Regions from separate parts of the Homo sapiens genome. Here region 2 is linked to region 1. Evidence: promoter capture Hi-C in human tissues and cell types (Jung and others, 2019). All regions are on one chromosome and are shown on one strand. The core of a region is centred on a gene start or on the middle of the fragment in contact, and the rest is flanking DNA. Distances in the headings are between cores, read along the strand shown. Region 1 holds the start of LRFN2 (leucine rich repeat and fibronectin type III domain containing 2). Region 2 holds the start of LOC105375053 (a long non-coding RNA gene).

Region 1 (5,107 bases), core at 1,181-3,680:
GACTGCATTTTCTTCCCATCTATCTTGCTTCTCCTCCTCAGCCTCACCTCCTGGAAGCTCCCAGCTCACCCTCTCTCAGGCCAGACTCCCCAGCTTCTCACGTTTCTGGGCCTGAGCAAAGAACTGGCACTTCACAGAAGAAGGAGCCCTGAACCCCAGCCTCCAGCCCACAGCAGGCAGGCACCCAGTTCTTCTAGACAGGAGATGGAACTGGGAGCCAACCTTCCAGAGGCTGAAACAGAAATGCCAAGTTTGCTGTTTGCATCCCCAGGATGAGGGCAGGAAGATAAATAATTACATTCCTGGTCAGGAATTAGACCAGAAACTCTAAATTGAGGGCTGGGCAGGGGGCCTGAGCAGAAGCATGTGAGGAGGCCAGAGGGAGATGCAACTCTGCACTCCCAGCCAGAGTCAGAAGGGAAAGATGACATTCCAGCATCAGCAGAAGGGCCCAGGCAGCTGGCATGGTCGGCGGAGGATGACGGCTCCAAGTGCAGGCCTTTTGGAGCTTCTGAATCCTCCCTACAGGACTCTGACCCCCTTCAGCCTCTGATGTACCCCACAAGGAAATGACACTACCCTCAGGGCTCTGCTGTGTGTGGCTATATAAAGCTCCTGCCAGAGGGCAGCGACCAGACCAGGGCACAACCCCAAGACCTAGTTCCCTTGCTCCCCACCTTGAGTTCCAAATCGGCCCCCACACAAGAATAACAGCCCACATAGAACCTCTAGCCCTGGCCCCTGGGAACTTCACAGCCCAGGGAATGGCAGTTTCCTCCCTAGCTTTGCTCCTCCCCAGCAGCAGGGGGTCAAATTCCTGAAGCTTCCCCCTCCCCCAGTACTAGAAGGCCAATCAGGCCATGGAGGCCACAGCTGCCACCTCCCTGAAACATACACATGCGTACACACACACACGCGTACACACACACACACACACACACACTCCATTGTGGCCAGGGGAGGGGGTCATCATCTATAGCCATGCCTGTAACTCCAACTCAAGAGTGCAGGCTCTGACATGTTCCCTGTCCCTGCAGGTGTCTGTCCGTCTGCAGCTGTCTGCTGTCGCCGGGTGCATTTGGCAACAGTCTGGCTCAGTCCCTCTGCGGTCTCCACTCAGGCTCTCTTCTCCCTCCTGCTCTGGTTTTCAGAGGCTCTATCTCCCTAGAACTCTCTGTCTCTGTCCTTTGTACCGGGCTGATGGGAAGACGAGTAGGACACCTCCCTCAGAAGGTCTGTGCAAAGTAAGGCACTGTCCACCTCGGAACGGTCTACTGCTCTCCCTCCTCCCTGCCCAGGCCAACCTTAGAACCAGGGCAGGGCTGGGTGGGAGACAGAGACCTAGGAACCCAGGCATGGCTAATGCCACTTTCCATATTGCTTCATCATGCCATTCTGATGCCCCAAGCTGCACACACACACAATCCCCCTGATCTGCTTTCTGCCTGAGGCCAGCATAGGGTCCCTGAACCTGCCCTACCTGCCCCCACAAACTGCAACCATGCCTTCCTTCCTCCCATCCGCTCTGCATCAACCCTTCCGCACTTGGCTTTACCCCACCCCACCCAGTCCACAGAGCTCAGGGAGTCCCCGGCGCCCCCACCTAGCCCCCAGCAATGGCTCTAGCCAGGCCTTGCATGTGCGGAGATGCAACAGAGTGGTCTGGCGGCAAAGTTCTCCTGCTGTTTTCAACGGTTCCATCCACCCGTGGCTCCCCGTCTCTCCATCCGGCTCTCCAGTCTCACATGGACCCGGCTCTCCCCGCTCCCCGCCAGAGTTTCACCCCCACTGTAGGAAATAAAGACTAAAGAAAGGAAAGGAAATCTCTCGCGATAAGGATGGGCGAAAAGAGAAGGGGGTGTCCGCATGAGCACCTAGGATGCGGGGAGTCTTCAAGAGAAAAAGAAAGGGATGCAAAGTTCCCGGTTCCCTCGGGTGCGTTCAGCCCCGCGCCGAGCTCCCGCGGACACCCGGGATCGCAAAGACGCAGCGCCGGCGACCACTCACCTGGGCGAGGCAGCATCTACCCCCGGCTGGGTGGCACCGAGGCCGGCTCCGCGGGGCGCCCGGGCTCCCCGGCTCGGCCACGCATCCTTCCCCGCCCGAGACAGACTCGAGCTAAACCCTCCGGCGGCTCCGGCGAATGCAGGCAGATGGTGGCCTCGGACGTCCACGCGGGGAAAGCCCTGAGCCGCTTATTCAGTTATATCCATGGCATTTAGCAAGAAGAAGGGGGGAAAAGCACAACTTGTTCTCTTCTCTTCCAGATTAAAGAAAAATAATAATAATAATCCCTCCCTAGGAGGATGCCGGTAGGATTTTCCGGATCGAAGAACCCCAGGCATTCCCAGGAACCTCGGGCATCTTGGAATGTGGGGTGTCTTCAAGTTCAGACGAGCCTGCCGGGTTGTGTATGTGTGAGTGTATGTGTGTCTCAGCGAGAGGGAGCCAGGCACTCACACCCACACGCACACACAAACACACTCCCCCGTACTCCCCGCATGCACACTGCCCCCCACGCGCGCGCGCATACGCGCGTACCCGGTTTCTCTCTCCGCTCCACACACACACACACACACACACGCACACACACACACACACGGATCACACGCTCCAATCTGGGAGGGAGTCGGGCGGGCTGCGGAGACAGCGCAGGGCCAGCAGTGGAGAAAACCCAGCGGCCAGAGGCGCCCAGGAACCCGGCGGCCGTGCGCACCGTCCCCGCCGAGCTCTCCGGCGCGGCAGCCCCCAGTGGCGAACCGCGGAGCTGCAGGAGCCGAAGGCAGCCTCTGCGCCCGCTGCCCTGCCCGCTGCCGAGCGCACCCGCTTCCGAGACGACCAACACCGCCGCGGAAACCAGAGGGATTCACGGTCCTGGCAGGGGTGGCGCGGGGACGCACGGTGGGGCGGGAGTGGGCTGGGGCCGCAGTCGCGGAGGGAGGTGGGCAGGCCGCGAGCCCCGGAACCGGGAGGGCGGTCTCCGCGGTCCAGCGGCACGGGCAGCCCCTGCGGAAGGCGAGCCGGGCGGCCAGGGCTGCACCTCTGCAGCTGGCGACGGCGCTGCCACCTCACGTGCCTAGCGCGCCCTGCAGCCGTCAGCCCGCCGCCTGCTGGAGGAAAACCCGACCGCGCCGGCCCTAGGCTGGGAGTGGGGGCTGGGGCGATCGCGCCCACCCAGTCCTGGGGCCCAGTTCAGATTCTCGAATCCTGGTAAGGGACCTATGAATAACGAGCGCCCCGTGCACGCACACACACGCACTTTGACTTTTCATGATTATTACAAGAATCAGTGAAGGGTGCAGTGGCGCCAAGTGTTTGCACAGCATCTTTACAACTCTTCACTTGTTTGATCTTCTCAGCAACCCTCATTTGATGTATAAGGAAACTGAGGCCCAAAAGAGTAAAGTGACTTGTCCAAGGCATGTGGTAGGTAGCGGAGACCCTACTCAAAGCAGACTGTGAGCTCACAGTCAGAACACCCAGGTCTGGCCAAGGTCTCGTCTTTGGTTATCCTCTCGGTTCACTATAAACAACTAGTTACCAGAAAGGTAGGACCGTCCTCTGCCTTACTGGACTCCCCAAGAGGCATTTCCTTCCTTCTAAAGGAAATGAAATTTTGAGATTCCTGTTGGTACTCCAGCTGGTAAATCCAGGGGCAGGAAGAATGTCAATGTTGCAGTCCTTCTCTTCTCTCCTGGTGGCTAACACATCCCGTGCACCTGTCCCGGTTACCCACAGGGAGGCACATGTTGCATGTGGATGTGTCTCTGCAGCCCAGGATTGGCTCGGCTGGATACATCTGTAACATACGACCCTGTGTCCTCTCTACACACATGCATAACTGCAGAAGCCGAGGCAGCTGGTCCTCATGTGTGCACCCTCCACATGTGCACCCCGGGAAACTGCCAAACTGGCATGCTGCATATCCTTGAAGACAAGCCTCTCCCTGCAGGAATTCTGGAAAGCCTGGTGGGGGAGGGGCATGGCCAAGATGAAACTCAAGGTATATGGGGTGGGCCTTGGAGAGAAGGGATCTAACTCAGGAGCAGGGAGTGAGGGATAGAGGTAGGGAAGAGTCATGAGAAGGAAAGTAATGAGGAAGGAAGAGGTGAGTAAAAGGAGGTGTGGAGTAGAAACTGGGGAGGGCAAGTAGGGAAGAGGAAGGGGAAGGGAAGAAGGAGGGGAGAACAGCAGGGAAACTGCCTTACTCTTTGCTTACCTGAGGGCTTGCCTACTATTGGCGGGAGCTCCCAGGAAGAAAGGCTTAGGAAGAACCACAGCCTGGGCTCAAGCCTTTGAATTCTCCCAAGGGTTGGGGGCAGTGGGCTAGGTTATCTCCCCTAACCCTCAGTCACCCATGAGACAACCAGAACGGAGTGGCAGGGATAGGACCAAGCTGGCACCAGAGTAGAAATGGAGCTGCTTTTAGAAACCAGAAAAGCATTAGAATGATGTGAATGAGGGATATAGGAAGGATGGATCAATCTCTGCTCTAGAGTGAACCCAATACTCCATCAAGAAGTTTTCTCAAGTCAGAAACATGGATATTCCATGAAGAGCCAAGACCTGGGTCATTGGTAATTCTGAGAATTACTGGTTTATTTTTCTAATTACATTTGCCCCAACATAACCTGAGTACTGTGCTGGGGCACAGGTGGCCTGGATGCTCACCATGGCTTTGTATTAACAAGCAATGTGACAAGTCCCTTTTCCTCAAAGGGTTTGGACTGTGCATTTGCTAAGAGCCTTTCCAGCTCTGGGAACCCCCAAGCAACCTTGACAGATGGAGCAGGATGGGGACCACATACATCTTGAGAGGCCAAGAGAACACCAATCTACAGTCACCGTTTACCATGAAAATCCCCAGAAGATAATCCACACTTGGATCATGAAAAGGTGAAAGATGGTGGATTTCTTGGCTCCTCGAACAAGCCCACAAGGACTGAGTTAGGGTCACTAACGTGGCACCTGGCTTCCTGTACTGGTTACTTACCTCAGAGTTGAGCCAGGGCTTCCCAAAGAGGTGATCCCATCATTCCAGAAGGGGTTGGGGAGTGAAAGCCATTTTAATAATGGGCATTTTGATTCTTCTTCGTGTTCATTCTGC
Region 2 (5,107 bases), core at 1,390-3,889, 240 kb after region 1:
TTCTCAAAAGAAGACATCTATGCAGCCAACAGACACATGAAAAAATGCTCATTATCACTGGTCATCAGAGAAATGCAAATCAAAACCACGATGAAGTATCATCCCATGCCAGTTAGAATGGCAATCACTAAAAAGTCAGGAAACAACAGATGTTGGAGAGGATGTGGAGAAACAGGAATGCTTTTACACTGTTGGTGGGAGTGTAAACTAGCTCAACCATTGTGGAAGACAGTGTGGCAATTCCTCAAGGATCTAGAACTAGAATTACCTTTTGACCCAGCAATCCCATTACTGGGTATATACCCAAAGGACTATAAATCATGCTACTATAAAGACACATGCACACGTATGTTTATTGCGGCACTATTCACAATAGCAAAGACTTGGAACCAACCCAAACGTCCATCAATGATAGACTGGATAAAGAAAATGTGGCACATACACACCGTGGAATACTATGCAGCCACAAAAAAGGATGAGTTCATGTCCTTTGCAGGGACATGGATGAAGCTGGAAACCATCATTCTCAGCAAACTATTACAAGGACAGAAAGCCAAACACCGCATATTCTCACTCATAGGTGGGAATTGAACAATGAGAACACTTGGACACAGGGAGGGGAACATCACATACCGGAGCCTGTTGTGGGGTGAGGAGCTGGGGGAGAGATAGCATTAGGAGAAATACCTAACGTAAATGATGAGCTGATGGGTGCAGCAAACCAACATGGCCCATGTATACCTATGTATCAAACCTGCACGTTGTGCACATGTGCCCTAGAACTTAAAGTACAAAAAAAAAAAAAAAAAAAAAAAAAAAAGAATAAGCCCGTCCTGACGGCATGAGCCTCCTTCCAGTCTCCCTCTAGTGCCCCCTAGTGACAGAATTTGAGAAGGATCTGGCAAAGGAGGGCTGGACCTGGTAAGGTCCCAACGCAGTGTGACACAGCAGGATATATAGGAAGAGGTCAGGAGGTAAGGAGCAAAGGCTTAATAACCCAAACAAGATGCACATGCACCTTATAATCCCGTCTACATGCAGGGAGGAAGGTAAAGCAGTAAACTAGGTTACTGTGTTCTGTGTATCACCCTTACTTAAATTTGGAATAACCCTAGGGGCTTTCTTAAATCAAAGTCTTAAATTTGTTTTGCCCATCCAGTGTTTCTAAATCAGATTTTTTTTAACTGTTCCTTCAGTTATATACCAAAAGTATCTCTACAAATTGATGTTAGGAACTTTCTGAGCCCTAAATCAATATAGTAAGAGAATCATTTCTGGGTAGAATGAAAAAGAAATTTTCAGACTGGGTTCATGCTTATATTCTATACGAAGCCTAGCCCTGCTTTTCCAAAGAAGTAGTGACACATATGGAAATGACAACCAGCAAGACCCAAGTCTGACAAGGAGGCTGAATTGCCCCTTTAGAATTATCATTTCTGCCACCTCCCAGCACTTTACCACTTACCTAAAAGAAGACAAAATAATAGACTCTTTTGCTTCCAGTACCTATAATGTACATTTCCAGGTTTGTTTTGGAGTACAGCTGTGAAATCCTTCAGCACTGACATAATTCTCTTCCCTCCAATTGTGAAGTGTTCTTTGAGCAATGTAATTGTTCCCCACTGCAATTCTTACAGCAGCGTGTCAGCATGCCAATCACTTCTTCTTCTTCCAGTTCTGATTCTTCCAGTTCCCTGCTGTGTTAACACCCAGAATGAGTCCTTCCAGCTGTTGAAAGATGTCAGCATATTTATATGAACTACTTTATGTTTCCTGGGGAAATGTTCTAAAAGAAAAGAGATCTTGGCCGGTATGCTTGTGATTCTGCAGAGATGTGACTTGGCTTGCATTTATATTTTCTTTGGGGTCAGTAATAGTATTAAGTATTTCAAATGGCACATGTGACTACACAGTGTCACTTTATCTTAACTGAGCTTTGGTCATCTGTATTCCATTCAATTAGACTACACATATCACTCAGATATCTCTTCTGGAAATGAGAAAATTTGTCTTGTGGTAGGTTCTCCCAGGAAAACCTTGAAGATATCATTTATTGCAATGTTGCTGGACAGCACAAACTCATGGAACTTTTTCTGACATTTCAAATTTCTCTTTATCTTATGTTTGCATAACATTTCTTGAAGATTTCTGAAGGTACCCACAATCTGAGTGTTACACATTTTTCTTTCACTGAAAAGGGAGTTTCTTCAAGATTCTATTTTTTTGTTTTTTTGTTTTTTTGTTTTTTTTTTTTTTGAGACAGTCTCACTCTGTCACACCTAGGCCAGAGTGCAGTGGCAGGATCTCAGCTCACTGCTATCTCCACCTCCCAGCTTCAAGCGATTCTCCTGCCTCAGCCACCTGAGTAGCTGGGATTACAGGCAGGCACCATGACACCCAGCTTATTTTTGTATTTTTAGTAGAGATGGGGTTTCACCATGTTGGCCAGGCTGGTCTCGAACTCCCGACCTCGGGTGATCCACCCACCTTGGCCTCCCAAAGTGCTGGGATTACAGGTGTGAGCCACTGTGCCCAGCCTCTTCAAGATTCTTGATAGGAATTGTTAAACCTCCTGTTACAGGCTGGATTGTATCTCCAAAAAGATGTATGGAACCTGACCCCTGGTACTTGTAAATGTGACTTTATTTGAAAATAGAGTGTACAGATATCATTAAGATGAATGTTAAGATGAGATCATACTGGAGTAGGTCAGGCCTTTAATCCAATATGACTGGTGTCCTTATGAAAGGAAGAGAGAGAGAGAGACAGAGGGAAGACAGCCGTGTGAAGATAGAGGCAGAGATTGGCCACAAACCGAGGAATACCTGGGGCTACCAAAAGCTGGAAGAGGCAAGAAAAGACCCTTCCTCCCCTAGAGGCTTCAGAGACAGCATATCATTGCCAACACTTTGATTTTGGACTTTTGGCCTCCAGAACTGTGAAAAAGTAAATTTACGCTGTTTTAAGCCACCCAGTTTATGGTACTTTGTTTCTGTAGCCTTAGAAAACTAATACACCTCTCAAATCTGCCAACTAAAATTTTAACAGAATAGATTTCTTTTTCACACTTTCCCTGTCTCTGCTTTCTTCTAAGTTAGTGCCTTCAGCACTAGTGAGCTCTTCCCTTCTTTTGCATTGGCTGAACACAGAAACAAAGAATTCTATAAACTCCTTCAAGGACACTCCTGGTAGATGCTGTGGCCCGTGCCTTTGCACGCACTGTCTGATAATTGTGGGGCATCCTGGGAATGGGTGCAGCATCGTTGGTGTTACATTTGGGACACTGTACATGCCCAGTTAGCACTGGCCACTGCTGTGACTAAAGAGAAAAGCCCACAAGCAAATTTTAGAACTCCCAGCATCTTCACCCAGTTCAATAAACTTGTTTCTTAGTTGCCCTGGATTTACAATCTTGTATTTCAATTCTCTACAAGCATGCTATTCTATAACAAGCAGAATCCCAGGACTGCCATAGGATACCTCTCTCTGATGTAGGTCCAGAGGTTTGTTTAGTTCCGAAAGAGCACTATCCCAGGCCTGCTCCCTCATGTGTGTGTCCCTAATTTCTCCTAATTATGATGATTCTGGATCTGCACTCTCTTAGTGTTCTAGGGGTCTCTAACCAGATACTTCCTTATTCTTATACCTCTATCGACAGTTCCATTTCAGAATGTCACAATGCTAAACATACCTGTGATTTCAAAGTTAAGTTATACCGGGGAGGATCATGAAATTTCATGTCCAAGCCAGGGCACTATTTTAGAGGAAAAGGAGATGTTTAAACAGTTAAAATTCTATAATATTGTTAAAATATATTAACCAACATTGATTTTTATTATATTGATGTACCTAAAAGATGAACTTTTTTTTTTTTGAGACAGAGTCTCACTCTGTCGCCCAGGCTGGAGTGCAGTGGTGCGATCTCGGCTCACTGCAAGCTCCACCTCCCGGGTTCACGCCATTCTCCTGCCTCAGCCTCCCAAGTAGCTGGGACTACAGGCACGTGCCACCATGCCCAGCTAATTTTTGTATTTTTAGTAGAGACGGGATTTCATCATGTTAGCCAGGATGGTCTCCATCTCTTGACCTAGTGATCCGCCTGCCTTGGGCTCCCAAAGTGCTGGGATTAGAGGCGGGAGCCACCGCACCCGGCCAAGATGGACTTCTTTAAGCTTTTAAAAATGAGATCTTTTCTAAAAAATAAAATCTATCTATATTAAAGCAGAATAAAAGCTTTATATTGACATTTAAACATTTAAAAATAGCAAGGAGAATAATTATCTTTGGTATATATTCACATCTGTTAATCAGCCTAGCCATTATCTGTCATGAGTATTTTTCTGAATAATTCATTTATTTCAATATATTATGCAATCCAGAGTTGCATATTATGATTAATAAACTTGGAATGAATAGGTCAATTAACTCTTCTGGTGGTCATAATAGTAAGGCCAGAGCATATCTGCTAAATGTATGATATTCTAAATTTTACTTTTGAAATTAAAATATATAAATACTGAGCCATTTTCAAGCGTACTTTATTTTTATCTCTTTTGAGTACCTTTCTTTAACAAATATTTTTCAGAGACAAAATTGGTTAAATAAATTGTCTAATGCCTTTTAATGTTTCATTGAATTTAAACACTTTAAAACTGTACACTTTCTCAATTTCAATCCTATAAAATATAGAATACAAATATGTCCAGTTAAAAATAGGACTTTCATCAAACGATTCTTTAAAGTCAACACGTTCCCAAGCACACTTATAGAACTTAAAAATTAAATCTTGACAAAGAAACAAAAGACATGTACATTAGAATGGAATAAATAAAACCATCCCTATTTGTAGATGACATGGTTGTCTACATAGGCAATCCAAGAAATCTAAAAAAAAAAAAAATTCCTAGAATAAGGGAGTTCACCAAGGTACAAGGTGAACACACAAACATCAATCACCTGTTTATTTATAAACAAGCATGTGGACATAAAAACTAAAAACACAATACCATTCATAATTGCTGCAAACTAAAAGAAATATTTGGATACCAATCTAACAAAACATTCTATACATTGAAAATTGCAAAATGCTGAAGACAGAAGTCAAAGT

What was found. The method cuts DNA at HindIII sites, captures the fragments that hold promoters and counts their contacts. A contact is called where the count stands out against the background at its distance.
Region 2: a contact is called between a fragment that was not itself captured here and the fragment with the promoter of LRFN2 in region 1, in 1 of the 25 tissues and cell types used here (H1 embryonic stem cells).

Annotation. Positions count from the first base shown.
Region 1 is chr6:40,584,934-40,590,040 of GRCh38, forward strand. It overlaps LRFN2 (leucine rich repeat and fibronectin type III domain containing 2), which reads right to left and starts at 2,431. Exons shown (of 3, transcript NM_020737.3): 1 at 2,008-2,431. RefSeq lists silencers at 2,604-2,703, 2,794-2,863. The HindIII fragment of the contact is 16,487 bases long and covers 1-5,107 here.
Region 2 is chr6:40,823,618-40,828,724 of GRCh38, forward strand. It overlaps LOC105375053 (a long non-coding RNA gene), which reads right to left and starts at 1,726. Exons shown (of 3, transcript XR_926790.3): 1 at 1,466-1,726. The HindIII fragment of the contact is 3,126 bases long and covers 1,077-4,202 here.